Regions from separate parts of the Homo sapiens genome. Here region 2 is linked to region 1. The links are contacts of gene promoters, found by promoter capture Hi-C in blood cells and fetal thymus (Javierre and others, 2016). All regions are on one chromosome and are shown on one strand. The core of a region is centred on a gene start or on the middle of the fragment in contact, and the rest is flanking DNA. Distances in the headings are between cores, read along the strand shown. Region 1 holds the start of ERN2 (endoplasmic reticulum to nucleus signaling 2). Region 2 holds the start of LOC105371143 (a long non-coding RNA gene).

Region 1 (5,805 bases), core at 1,939-4,438:
CTGGAGTGCAATGGCGTGATCTTGGCTCACTGCAACCTCTGCCTCCCGAGTTCAAGCAATTCTCCTGCCTCAGCCTCCTGTGTAGCTGGGATTACAGGCATGTGCCACTACGCCCTGCTAATGTTTGTATTTTTAGTAGAGACAGGGTTTCACCATGTTGGCCAGGCTGGTCTTGAACTCCTGACCTCAAGTGATTCACCCACCTCAGCCTCCCAAAGTGCTGAGATTACAGGATGAGCCCCTGCACCCAGCTGATTATTATTAATATTTTTGAGATAGTGTCTTGCTCTTTAGCCCAGGCTGGAGTGCAGTGGTGCAGTCACAGCTAACTGCAGCCTCCAGCTCCTAGGCTCAAGTGATCCTCCCACCTCAGCCTCCTGAGTAGCTGGGACTACAGGTGTGAGCCACCACACCTGTCCAGATATTTTCTTATTTAAATTTTTCTGAATTTTACAAAGTTTCTAGAATGTATATTGCTTTTATCATTACACACACACACACACACACACACAATTTATTCCAGTTCATTTGCAGTTTGTATTTTATGCAAGTCAAATTTTTTGCATGAGAAATGCCTGAATCCAAGCATAGTAAACACAATGTACATTTCAAAACAATGCAGAGTGTACAAAATATAGAGCAGAAAGGAGGGTTCATTCACACACTCAATAGCTTGGGTTAGGTTCTACAATGGCAAACAATCACTTTTGTTATAAAGTTAGGAGTACTGGGCCAATTTAGGGGTGTTGGAACAGCTAAGCATGAAAGAGCAACCAAGTAAACTAAAGACTTCATAATGTACATATTTCTTTGTTTTTGTTTTGTTTTGTCTTGTTTTTTATTTATTTATTTATTTTGAGACAAAGTCTCACTCTGTTGCCCAGGCTGGAGTGCAATGGCACGATCATGGCTCACGGCAGCCTCCACCTCCTGGGTTCAAGCAATTCTCCTGCCTCAGTCTCCCAAGTAGCTGGAATTACAGGCATGCGCCATCACGCCCGGCTAATTTTGGTATTTTTAGTAGAGACAGGGTTTCACCATGTTGGCCAGGCTGGTCTCAAACTGCTGACCTCAGGTGATCCACCCACCTCGACCTCCCAAAGTGCTGAGATTACATGCATGAGCCACCGCGCCCAGCCTGTTTTGTTTTTTAGAGACAGGGTCTCACTCTGTTGCCCAGGCTGGAGAGCAGTGGTGCTACCTGCAGCCTGGATCTCCTGGAATCAAGGGATCCTCCTACCTCAGCCTCCCAAGTAGCTGGGGCTACTAGTGCACACCAGCGTGCCTGGCTTATTTTTTATTTTTTGTAGAGACTGAGGTCTTGCTATGTTGCCCAGGCTGCTCTTGAACTTCTGAACCTGGTATGGCTTAGTGTGAAATAACTTTCACAAAAATCCCAACCTGTTTCAACCCAGCCTAAGACAGTGGTGTAGTTCCTTCAGATGGTCAGCTAGGAGGTCCAAGCAGGATAAGGACAAGGAAGGGGCTGACAGAGTGGAAGAGAGACTGAGGGATGAAGGTACCGTGTAGGTCAGGGCACAGGGATAAGGAGAATGAAAGGGTGAAACCGTTGCATGGAGAGGAGGCTGCAATCAGAGAAAGGGACATTGGAACTAAAGTGGTTCTGAGTGTGACAAGGGCCCAGTGCAGTTGTGGCGTGGGGGATAAGGTCTCCAAAGAGGTACACCCACTGAGAGGCTGCAATGCTGGCTAAGCTGTACCTTGGACATTGAAGACACCAAGGAGAGTGGCAGGATTTGTGATGGAGATGAAGGCTAGGGGCCAAGCTACCAAGTTTTCAGTAACTGTGAGGGGATGACCAGGAGGGCCAAGGATGACAAAGAGGACGGGGAGAAGGTGGCAGAGCTGGGCTGCATGACCCTCAAATCAGCAGGGATTTTTTTTTTTTTATTTTTACACAAGGATGAAGGAGACATGAATGAGTTGAAACTTGCAAACAGGGTGGACCTTACCTTCAAGGACCCTGGCAGACCCTCTCTGAACAAAACTGGAGACATCTACCAGGAGCAAGGGTGGTCACGGCCATTAGAAGGTGCCCTTCCATGCGGAGTTGTCTTACATCTAAGGCATAGGAATCTCTAAGCTCTACGAAGACAGGGACCTCATCATCTTGTTCATCAGGCAGGCATGTCATAGCTTATAATAAATGCATATTTATTGGCTGGGCGCGGTGGCTTATGCCTGTAATCCCAGCACTTTGGGAGGACGAGGTGAGCGGATCAACTGAGGTCAGGAGTTTGAGACCAGCCTGGCCAAAGTGGTGAAGCCCCATCTCTACTAAAAATACAGAAATTAGCTGGGCATGTTGGCCCACATTTTTAATCCCAGCTACTCGGGAGGAGGATTGCTTGGACCCAGGATGCAAAGGTTGCAGTTAGCCAAGATAGTGCCATTGCACTCCAGCCTGGGTGACAAGATCGACTCTGTCTCAAAAAATAAATACATGCATATTTATTTATTTATTTTATTTTTGGAGAGTGTGTCTCTCTCTGTCGCCCAGGCTGGAGTGCAATGGCACAGTTATAGCTCACTGCAGCCTTGACTTCCTGGCTCAAGCAATCCTCCCACCTCAGCCTCGCGAGTAGCTGGAACTACAGGTGGACATCACCACACCTGGCCATTTTTTTTTGTAGAGATGGGGTCTCACTATGTTGCTGGTCTCCAACTCCTGGTTTCAAGTGATCCTCCCTCCTAGGCCTCCCAAAGTGCTGGGATTACAGAGGTGAGCCACTTACCTGACCCATAATAAATATTTATTGAACGAACGACTGAATTCACCAATTAATCGCTATTTCCTGATAGCCCACCGGGATCCGCTGGTGCAATGATAAAGAGCGCAGGCTTTGAGATCAGGCGGATCTGTATTGGGACTGCGGCTCTCAGCCTCCGCTTGTACCTGCTGTGCAGTGAGGACTCCAGGAACTGATGATGAACCGGCACGGTCCTCGGCACGTGGCAAGTTCTCCATAAGTGGGCTCAGTAAAATCCCTCTCCCGGGAAAGCGCCCCACCGTGTTTGGTGGGGTGACTGGGACGCGAGGATGCGGCTGGGAGTGTGATGAGAAGGGCGGGGATCGGCGAGGACTCCAGGCTGGGGTTGCAGGCCCAGCCAGGGGCGGAGCCTTCTCCGGGTCGGGCGGGGACAGAGCGCTCCCTTGGAGGCACCCAGGGACCTGGCCAGCCGTGCAGCTGCCCAGGCGCTATGGCGAGTGCGGTCAGGGGGTCGAGGCCGTGGCCCCGGCTGGGGCTCCAGCTCCAGTTCGCGGCGCTGCTGCTCGGGACGCTGAGTCCACAGGTGAGAGCCAGGGACCGACGCCAAGTCCCCAAAGTCTGGTCGCGGGGCGCAGGGGGCGGCGTCGCACTTGGGGCGAGGGCGCGGCGGGGCCACGGGGGCACCTCTCCCTCCCTCACGCCTGGGTGGTCCCAACTCGGCCCCAACGGAGTAAAAGCCTCCTGGGTTTGGGGAGCCGCCAGTTGCCCCCAACAAATACCTAGCTGGGGAGATCTGCCAGCGTGGAAAGGCAAGAGTAGACAGAGCACCCCGCCTCTTCAGCAGGGAGAGGTGTAGTCTGGGGTAGGGGGGCACCTGGGCACGAAAGCCAGGCCTCTTAAAACTTCTGGGAATCCTGGCTTCCTTTGAAAATATGATTGACTTCAGGGCCCTCTGCTGAGAAATGAGCCTGCACGCCCAGTTTTGCAATTTCAGAGGCTTTACAATACGGTCCCCTTACCCATGGCTGCACCCCAGGTTCAGAACCTATGGGATAAATGAGCTGGGAGTGTCAGTATCTGCTCCCACGGTGCCAGGAATAGCAGAGTCTTACAGAAATGCAGCCAGGAGGCAAAAGTCGCCTGGCCTAAGAATCCAGGTGTCCCGCCTAGAACCCCCATGGGGCAAAAGCGATCAGGTAGAGTTAGGCACCTCTCATTCCCGGCTTCCACCTCATGGGTCCACCTCATGGTTGCCAGCTAAGAATGCAAGCCCAGTGTGGCCAGATCGGATGTCTCTGGAAAAATTAGAAATGAGAAAGATTTGAAATCTTGGTTTTTTTGTAGAAATCATCCAATTTTTAAAAAAATTGGCAGCTAATTGAAAAATTTTTAAGCACTAGATGGTCAAACAAAATTCATTTCTGGGCAACCAATCTGCAGCCTCTTCTCCAAACCGTTCTCCCTCCTGCCATGCTGCAGATGACAAAATTGAAGCCCAGAAAGAAAGAGGGGCTAGCAGATAATTTCCTGACCCTCCACTCAACACCAGTGGCCCAGCCCCAAACCTGAGGGTCCTGAAGCAGGATGTGGCCTTTGTAGGGGTGCGGCTGGGCCACCCGGATGTTAGGCCTCCTGCTGGGAGCTCAGCCTCACCCTGTTTGCTCAAGGAGGGACTGGAGCAGGTGAGTGAGCCCAGGATCGCCAGATGTAAGTACGGGTGGCTCCAGCCCCCCTCCCAAGGGCACCCCCCAGCCTTGGGTCAAGGGACCCACTGGAGCCTGGCACCAAAACCAGCTGGGCTGGTTTGGGGAGGCAGAAAGGGGCATCCCAAAAGAGGTAGACATTGTGGCAGAGGAAAAAGAGGCCAGGCATAGGAATCAGAGGGATGGCAACTCAAGTCCTTAGTTTTGCCACTTATTATCTCTGTGGCTTTATGCCAATGACCTAACCAATGACCTAACTTTCCTGAGCCTCAGTCTCCCTCCTCTGTAGAATGGGAAAACTAATAATACCAGTCTTAGAATGGGTGCAGTGGCTCATGCTTGTAATCCCAATACTTTGGGAGGCTGAGGCAGGAGGATCGCTTGAGGCCAGGAGTTCCAGACCAGCCTAGACAACATAGCAAGACCCCATCTCTACAAAAAAATACAAAAATTAGCCAGGTGTGATGACAGACACCCGTAGTCCCAACTACTTGGGAGGCTGAGGTGTGAGGATCAGCTGAGCCCAGGGGTTTGAGGCCACAGTGAGCTATGACTATGCCACTTCATTCCAGCCTGGGCAATAGAGCAAGACCCTGTCTTATATTAAAACAACAAGAACAATAACAAAAAGAAACAAAACAAACAATGAAGTCATTTTGTAAAGGCCTTTAGTCTTCTTTGGAAAACCAGAATGAATTGAGGAAGGAGGTAAGTAATTGGGAATTTAGATACATTGGGAGCCAAAACCTCCCCTCAGAACCCCCCAGCTTCCACTATAACCCTTCTCTAGGGTCAAAGAGATGATGAGTGACACCAGCACGTTCCCCAATCACCCTTCCTCCCCTGCTGCATCCCCATCTGGGGGAAGGGGAGTCATGGCCAGCCCTGCTTGGGACAGGAGCAAAGGGTGGTCCCAGACCCCTCAGAGAGCTGACTTTGTCTCTACCCCCTTGCAGGTTCATACTCTCAGGCCAGAGAACCTCCTGCTGGTGTCCACCTTGGATGGAAGTCTCCACGCACTAAGCAAGCAGACAGGGGACCTGAAGTGGACTCTGAGGGATGGTGAGCAAGAGGTGGTCCCTCCTCCCTCCTTGGGCCCATAGATTGGTGAAGGGATAGTCACTGTGGCATAGAGAATAAGAACATGGGCTCTAGAATCCAATAAGCTGGTATCTACAGGCAGCTTCACTGCTTACCAGCTGTGTGGCCTTGAGAAACCCACCTTACCTCTCTGATCCTCAACATCCTCATCTATAAAATGGGGCAAAGGATATGACCCTATCTGACAGAGTTTTTGGGAAGATGGCATTACATTCACACCAAGTGCTTGACATCACAGTCATGCCATAGCTCAGTGAATATGAGCTGTG
Region 2 (5,805 bases), core at 1,562-4,061, 780 kb before region 1:
CTTCCCTTTTCTTTGTCAACTAGGTGTACAGTAAGGAACCGACAACATCACACCGGCCAGGTAGAGAAGCCATTTGCATAATAGAAGATTAGGGTGGGGTGGCCAGCTTCTTTGCGCGCTTTGTAAACATCACACCTAGTCCACCAATCTTTGGGCCCTATGTAAATTAGACAACACCTCCTCAAGCCAGTCTATAAACCCTCCCCTCCCCGCACATGCATTTCACCGCAAAACCCAAAGACCCACTTAGGTGTCCCCTCTCTCCGCAGAAGAGAGAGCTTTTCCCTTTCTCTCTGTTAAACCTCTTCTCTTAAACTCACTTCTTGCGTGTCCTCGTCCTCGATTTCCTTGGCGTAAGACGACGAACCTCAGGCATTTACCCCAGACAACGAAGGTGCTTCATAAGGTCATGCAGCTGGTAAGTGGCAGAGCGAGGATTTGAACGGAGGGAGTCTGGCTCCAAGGCTGGGCTCTCTCTCTCTCTCTCTCTCTCTCTCCCTCCCTCCCTCCCCCCACCTTCTCTCCTTTTTTCTCTCTCCCTTTCTTTCTCTCTTTCCTTCTCTGTTGCCCAGGCTGGAGTGCAGTGATGCAATCTCGGGTCACTGCAGCCTCTGCCTCTCCAGCTCAAGCAATCCTCCCACCTCAGCCTCCCAAGCAGCTGAAACTACAAAAATGCACCACTATGACCAGCTAATTTTTTTTTTTTTGAGACAGATTCTCACTCTGTCACCCAGGTTAGAGTGCAGTGGTGTGATCGTGGCTCATTGCAACCTCTGCCTCCCAGGTTCAAAGGATTCTGGTGCCTCAGCTCCTGAGTAGGGATTACAGGCACCCACCACCATGCCCAGCTAATTTTTCTATTTTTAGTAGAGAAGGGGTCTCATTATGTAGCCCAGGTTGGTCTCCTGGACTTAAGCAATCCTTTTACCCCAGCTTCCCAAAATGCTAGGATTTCAGGAGTGAGCCACTGTGCCTGGCCAAGGCTAGGCTCTTATCTCCCAGCCTATGTGACCTTCTGATGGTGTCACAGGTGAGGGGGGCATGGTACATGGCGGCTTGATTTTCACCAAGCACTCAACTTGGTTCCCAGTCCAACTCTGTTTCTGCCCTGGGGACCCTTCTTGATATTGGAAACGGATAAAGCCTGTGGGTTTTTGTTAAATTTATTTTTCCCCACACAACACTGATGTATCAAGGGGGTTTTACCCAGTCTGGATTATGACTTTGTCTTTGACTTTTGATTTTAAAAACTAAGCATTTGTTTCTATTGTTCTCTGGTTTTATGGTGACAACTTTCTCCCTAAGGCAATGAGTAGGTGACTCATGTTGCGTTGCCTAGAGGACGGGGTGGGGAAGGAGTGAGCGGGAAAGGGCGTCAGAGTACCGAGCATGATTCCACTTATAGGAGGGATTTAAAATAGTCAAATGCACGGAATCAAAGAGTGGAATGGTGGTTGCTAGGGACTGGGGGAGGGCAAAATGGGGAGTTACTAATCAATGGGCAGAAAGCTCCAGTCAAGCAAGATGAATAAGCTCTAGAAATCTGCCGTATGACATTTACCTATAGTCAGCAGGAATGTATTGGACACTTAAAAAATCTGTTAAGAGAGGAGATCTCATGTTGTGTTCTTTTTTCTTTTTTTTTTTTTTTAAGAGATGGGGGTCTTGCTATGCTGCCCAGGCTAGTCTTGAGCTCCTGGCCTCATGCGATCTTCTGCCTTGGCCTCCCAAAGTGCTGAAATTACAGGTGTGAGCCATTGCACCTGGCCCCTAGTGTTCTTATCACAATTAAAAAATAAAAAAAGATGGCCAGGCATGGTGGTTTGCACCTGTAATCCCAGTGCTTTGGGAGGCTGAGGTTGGGGGGATTGCTTGAGGTCAGGAGTTTGAGACCAGCCTGGGCAACACAGTGAGACCCAGTCTATATTTTAAAAAAGAGAGAGAAAGATGGACTATATCACATCTGTTTCTTTGCATCCCATTTTTCATCTCCTCCACCTTCACTTTGTTTTACTTCTTGTCAGCCTCAAGTCTTGGGGATGGGGTTGAAGATTCTGTGGCTAGCCCAGGTCTGCCTTTCTGGGATACACTGCCTGTCCAGGGAAGTGCTGCCCAAGAGAAATGTCATCTGACCCACACATGTAATTTTAAACTTTCTGCTAGCCACATTAGAAAGGTAAAGAGAGGCCGGCGTGGTGGGACATGCCTGTAATCTCAGCACTTTGGGATGCCAAGGTGGGAGATTGCTTGAGCCGTTTAAGATGAGCCTAGGCAAAATGGTGAGACCCTGTCTCCACAAAAATAAATAAATAGCTGGGCATGGTGGCTCAAGCCCGTAATCCTAGCACTTTGGGAGGTGGAGGTGGGCAGATTGCCTGAGCTCAGGAGTTCAAGACCCACCTGGCCAACATGGTGAAAGCCCATCTCTACTAAAAAAATATAAAAATTAGCCGGGGGTGGTGGCGTACATCTGTAGTCCCAGCTATTTGGGAGGCTGAGGCAGGAGAATCGCTTGAACCTAGGAGGCAGAGGCTACAGTGAGCCGAGATCGTGCCACTGCACTCCAGCCTGGGTGACAGAGTGAGACTCTGTCTCAATAAATAAATAAATATGAGGCCAGGCACGGTGGCTCACGCCTGTGATCCTAGCACTTTGGGAGGCCGAGGAGGGCAGATTACTTGAGGCCAGAATTTTGAGAGCAGCCTGGAAAACATAGCAAAACCTGTCTCTACAAAAAATTAAAAAATTTTGAGACTCCGTCTCAAAAAAAAAAAAAAATTAGCTGACTGAGGTGGGAGGATGGATTCAGCCCAGGAGGCTGAGGCTGCAGTGAGATATGATCACACCACTGACTCCAACCAAAAAATAAAAGACACCCATGACAATTTTCTTTTTTTTTTTTCTTTTTTTTTTTTTGAGACGGAGTCTCGCTTTATTGCCTAGGCTGCTGGAGTGCAGTGGCACAATCTCATCTCACTGCAACCTCCAACCCCCTACCACGGGTTCAAGTGATTCTCGTGTCTCAGCCTCCAGAGTAGCTGGGATTACAGGTGCCCCCCACCACGCCCAGCTAATTTTTGTATTTTCAATAAAGAGGAGGTTTTGCCATGTTGGCCAAGCTGTTCTCAAACTCCTGACCTCAAGTGATCCGCCTGCCTCGGCATCCCAAAGTTTTGGGATTACAGGCGTGAGCCACTGTACCCGGCTGACAATTTTCATAATGTTTTATTTAACCCAATATGACTAAATTACTGTTACTTCAGTGTGCTATTAATATAAAACATCGTTATTTTCTTTTTCCATACTAAAGTTTTTTAAAATACTGGGGTGTAATTTATACTAATGATCCCAACTTAATGCAGACTGACCACATTTCAAGTGCCCAATGGCCACATGTGCCCATGGATACTGCAATGGACAGTGGAGCTCTAGAGCTCTGAACCTCTGTGTTCTGGGGTGACCTCACTCCCGTGACTAATGTCAGAAGATGGCTGTAAGGCCCAGGGCTATTTGTGTCCAGCTCCAACTTAATCTCTCCTGGGGAAATGAGCTTTGTTCTCTTTTAGTGGAGAATCTGTCCTTGGTTTGCCCATTGTGGGATGTTTTCTAGAGCACAGATGCTAATGTTGTTCTAAAAAACTGGGGTTCTTGGCCAGGTGAGGTGGGTCACACCTGTAATCCCAGCACTTTGGGAGGTTGAGGTGGGTGGATCACTTGGTCAGGAGATCGAGACTATCCTGGCTAACACGGTGAAACCCCATCTCTACTAAAAATACAAAAAATTAGCCAGGTGTGGTGGTGGGCGCCTGTAGTCCTAGCTATTCAGGAGGCTGAGGCAGGAGAATGGCGTGAACCCGGGAGGCGGAGCTTGCAGTGAGCTGAGATCGCGTCACTGCACTCCAGCCTGGGCAACAGAGCGAGACTCCATCCCAAAGAACAAAACAAAACAAAACAAAACTGGGGTTCTTCATCAGGCAAGTAACAAAGACTCTTTATAGGGATGTAGGTTTGGATCAATAGGAGTTTTATTACTTGATACAAGTAAAGGAGAACATTGAGAGTATTCTCCAAAGCAGTGTCTTCCCAAGGGAAAGTGATAGGCGAGTTTTATGGGGTAATAGAGAAGGGAGAGGGTGCAGCATTGCGTGTAGTGGGGTCTCAGTTGTGCAGATGCGCTGAGCTATCATGCCAGCACATAGGTTGCATGTTAAGGTAATGAAGCTATAGCTCCTCTGGGGGTGGAGACTTTAGCATGGTAATGAGGAATGTTCACTTGGGTTCATCTGTAAGTTGTGGGAGTCTGCCAGGAGCTGGTTTTAACTGATTAGGTGACTGCATTCCATACAAGGTTTAGGAAGAAAAGGACTTCAGGGCAGGAGGCTATAAAACAGGCTGATTGCTCAAGTTCATTAAATTCTTGTAATCTCTGGAGACCCTCCCTATCTGCTTACACTAAGTAAACCTGACCTGCATGTTAGCATGGAGAGCAGAGGATGCTATGTATTCATTTAAAAATCATGTATTGAATATGTCATAAGCTCAAGATTCTGTTCTAACATGCAGTTCAGGCTCCTGGGGGATGGGACCAAAGCCTCAGTGTTTTTTTTTTTTTTTTTTTGAGACAGAGTCTCACTCTGTCACCCAGGCTGGAGTGCATTGGCACGATCTCAGCTCATTGCAACCTCTGCCTCCCAGGTTCAAGCAATTCTTGTGCCTCAGCCTCCTGAGTAGCTGGGATTACAAGCATGTGGCACCATGTCCAGCAATTTTTTTGTATTTTGGATTTCACCATCTTGGCCAGGCTGGTTTCGAACTCCTGGCCTCAGGTGATCCACCTGCCTCAGCCTCCCAAAGTGCTGGGATTACAGGTGTGAGCCACGTGCCGGACCTCAGTCTTTAGGATCAAAAGCGAAAGTCCCTGCCCTTGTGGAGCTTTCATTCCTTGGAGGGAAACAGGGAGGACAGGGAGTGCAGCTGGGGCTGAGGTGGTGTGCAAAGACCTCTCAGTAGTGATGTGACATTTGAATAAACACGAGAAGGAACTGAAGGATTGATAAGGGATGGGGAGGAAGCTGAGGAGTCAGTCTCCCTGGGTTCAGATCCTGGCTTCAGAGACTTCAGTTTTCAACCATGGCAGACTGGGAGGGACCAGATTTACTCTCTTGCTTTAAACAACTCAAAAACCCGATGACATATATGAAACAATAATTTCCGGACATTGAACCACAGATAGCACAATACAGAGATCCTGAAAGAAAGGAAATAGCTAAGTCTTTTGATGGCCACAGGTCTTGATGCAGAGAGGAGAAACACAACAGAATACGACAGTGTCCCTGCATTGAGAGTCTGGGGAGGCCAAGGCAAGGGAGTGAACCACACAGAAAGGATTTTGGAGCTGTTTAGAGCATTCCCCTCCATTTCTTAGCTGAGTACTGATCAGTACACGCCTGTGAAGAAACTCCCAGAGGCCAAGGAAAGACCACCAAGAAGGACCAGGTGGAGCTCACATAGGATCGGGAATTGTGTTCTTACTGACCAGAAAGGAAAGACCTCTCCATGAGTCCATTTTGCATTGCTCCAAAGGAATACCTGAGGCTAGGTAATTTATAAAGAAAAGAGGTTTATTTGGCTCAGGATTCTCAGGATTCTGTATAAGCAGCATGGCACCAGCCTCTGCTCAGCTTCTGGTGACAGGAAGCTTTCAGTTATGGCGGAAGGTAAAAAGGGAGTAGGCACATCACATGGTGAGAGAGGGAGCAAGAGAGAGAGGAGGAGATGCCAGGCCCCTTTAAACAACCAGCTTCT

Evidence for each region. Contacts are between HindIII fragments. The CHiCAGO score rates a contact against its expected background, and 5 or more counts as called.
Region 2: a contact is called between a fragment that was not itself captured here and the fragment with the promoter of ERN2 in region 1, in 1 of 17 cell types (total B cells). The highest score is 5.1, in total B cells.

The regions. Positions count from the first base shown.
Region 1 is chr16:23,710,605-23,716,409 of GRCh38, reverse strand. ERN2 (endoplasmic reticulum to nucleus signaling 2) reads left to right here and starts at 3,188. Exons shown (of 22, transcript NM_033266.4): 1 at 3,188-3,315; 2 at 5,392-5,497. The coding sequence starts at 3,223. The HindIII fragment of the contact is 14,517 bases long and covers 1-5,805 here.
Region 2 is chr16:24,489,597-24,495,401 of GRCh38, reverse strand. LOC105371143 (a long non-coding RNA gene) reads left to right here and starts at 225. Exons shown (of 4, transcript XR_950928.3): 1 at 225-418. The HindIII fragment of the contact is 5,778 bases long and covers 1-5,700 here.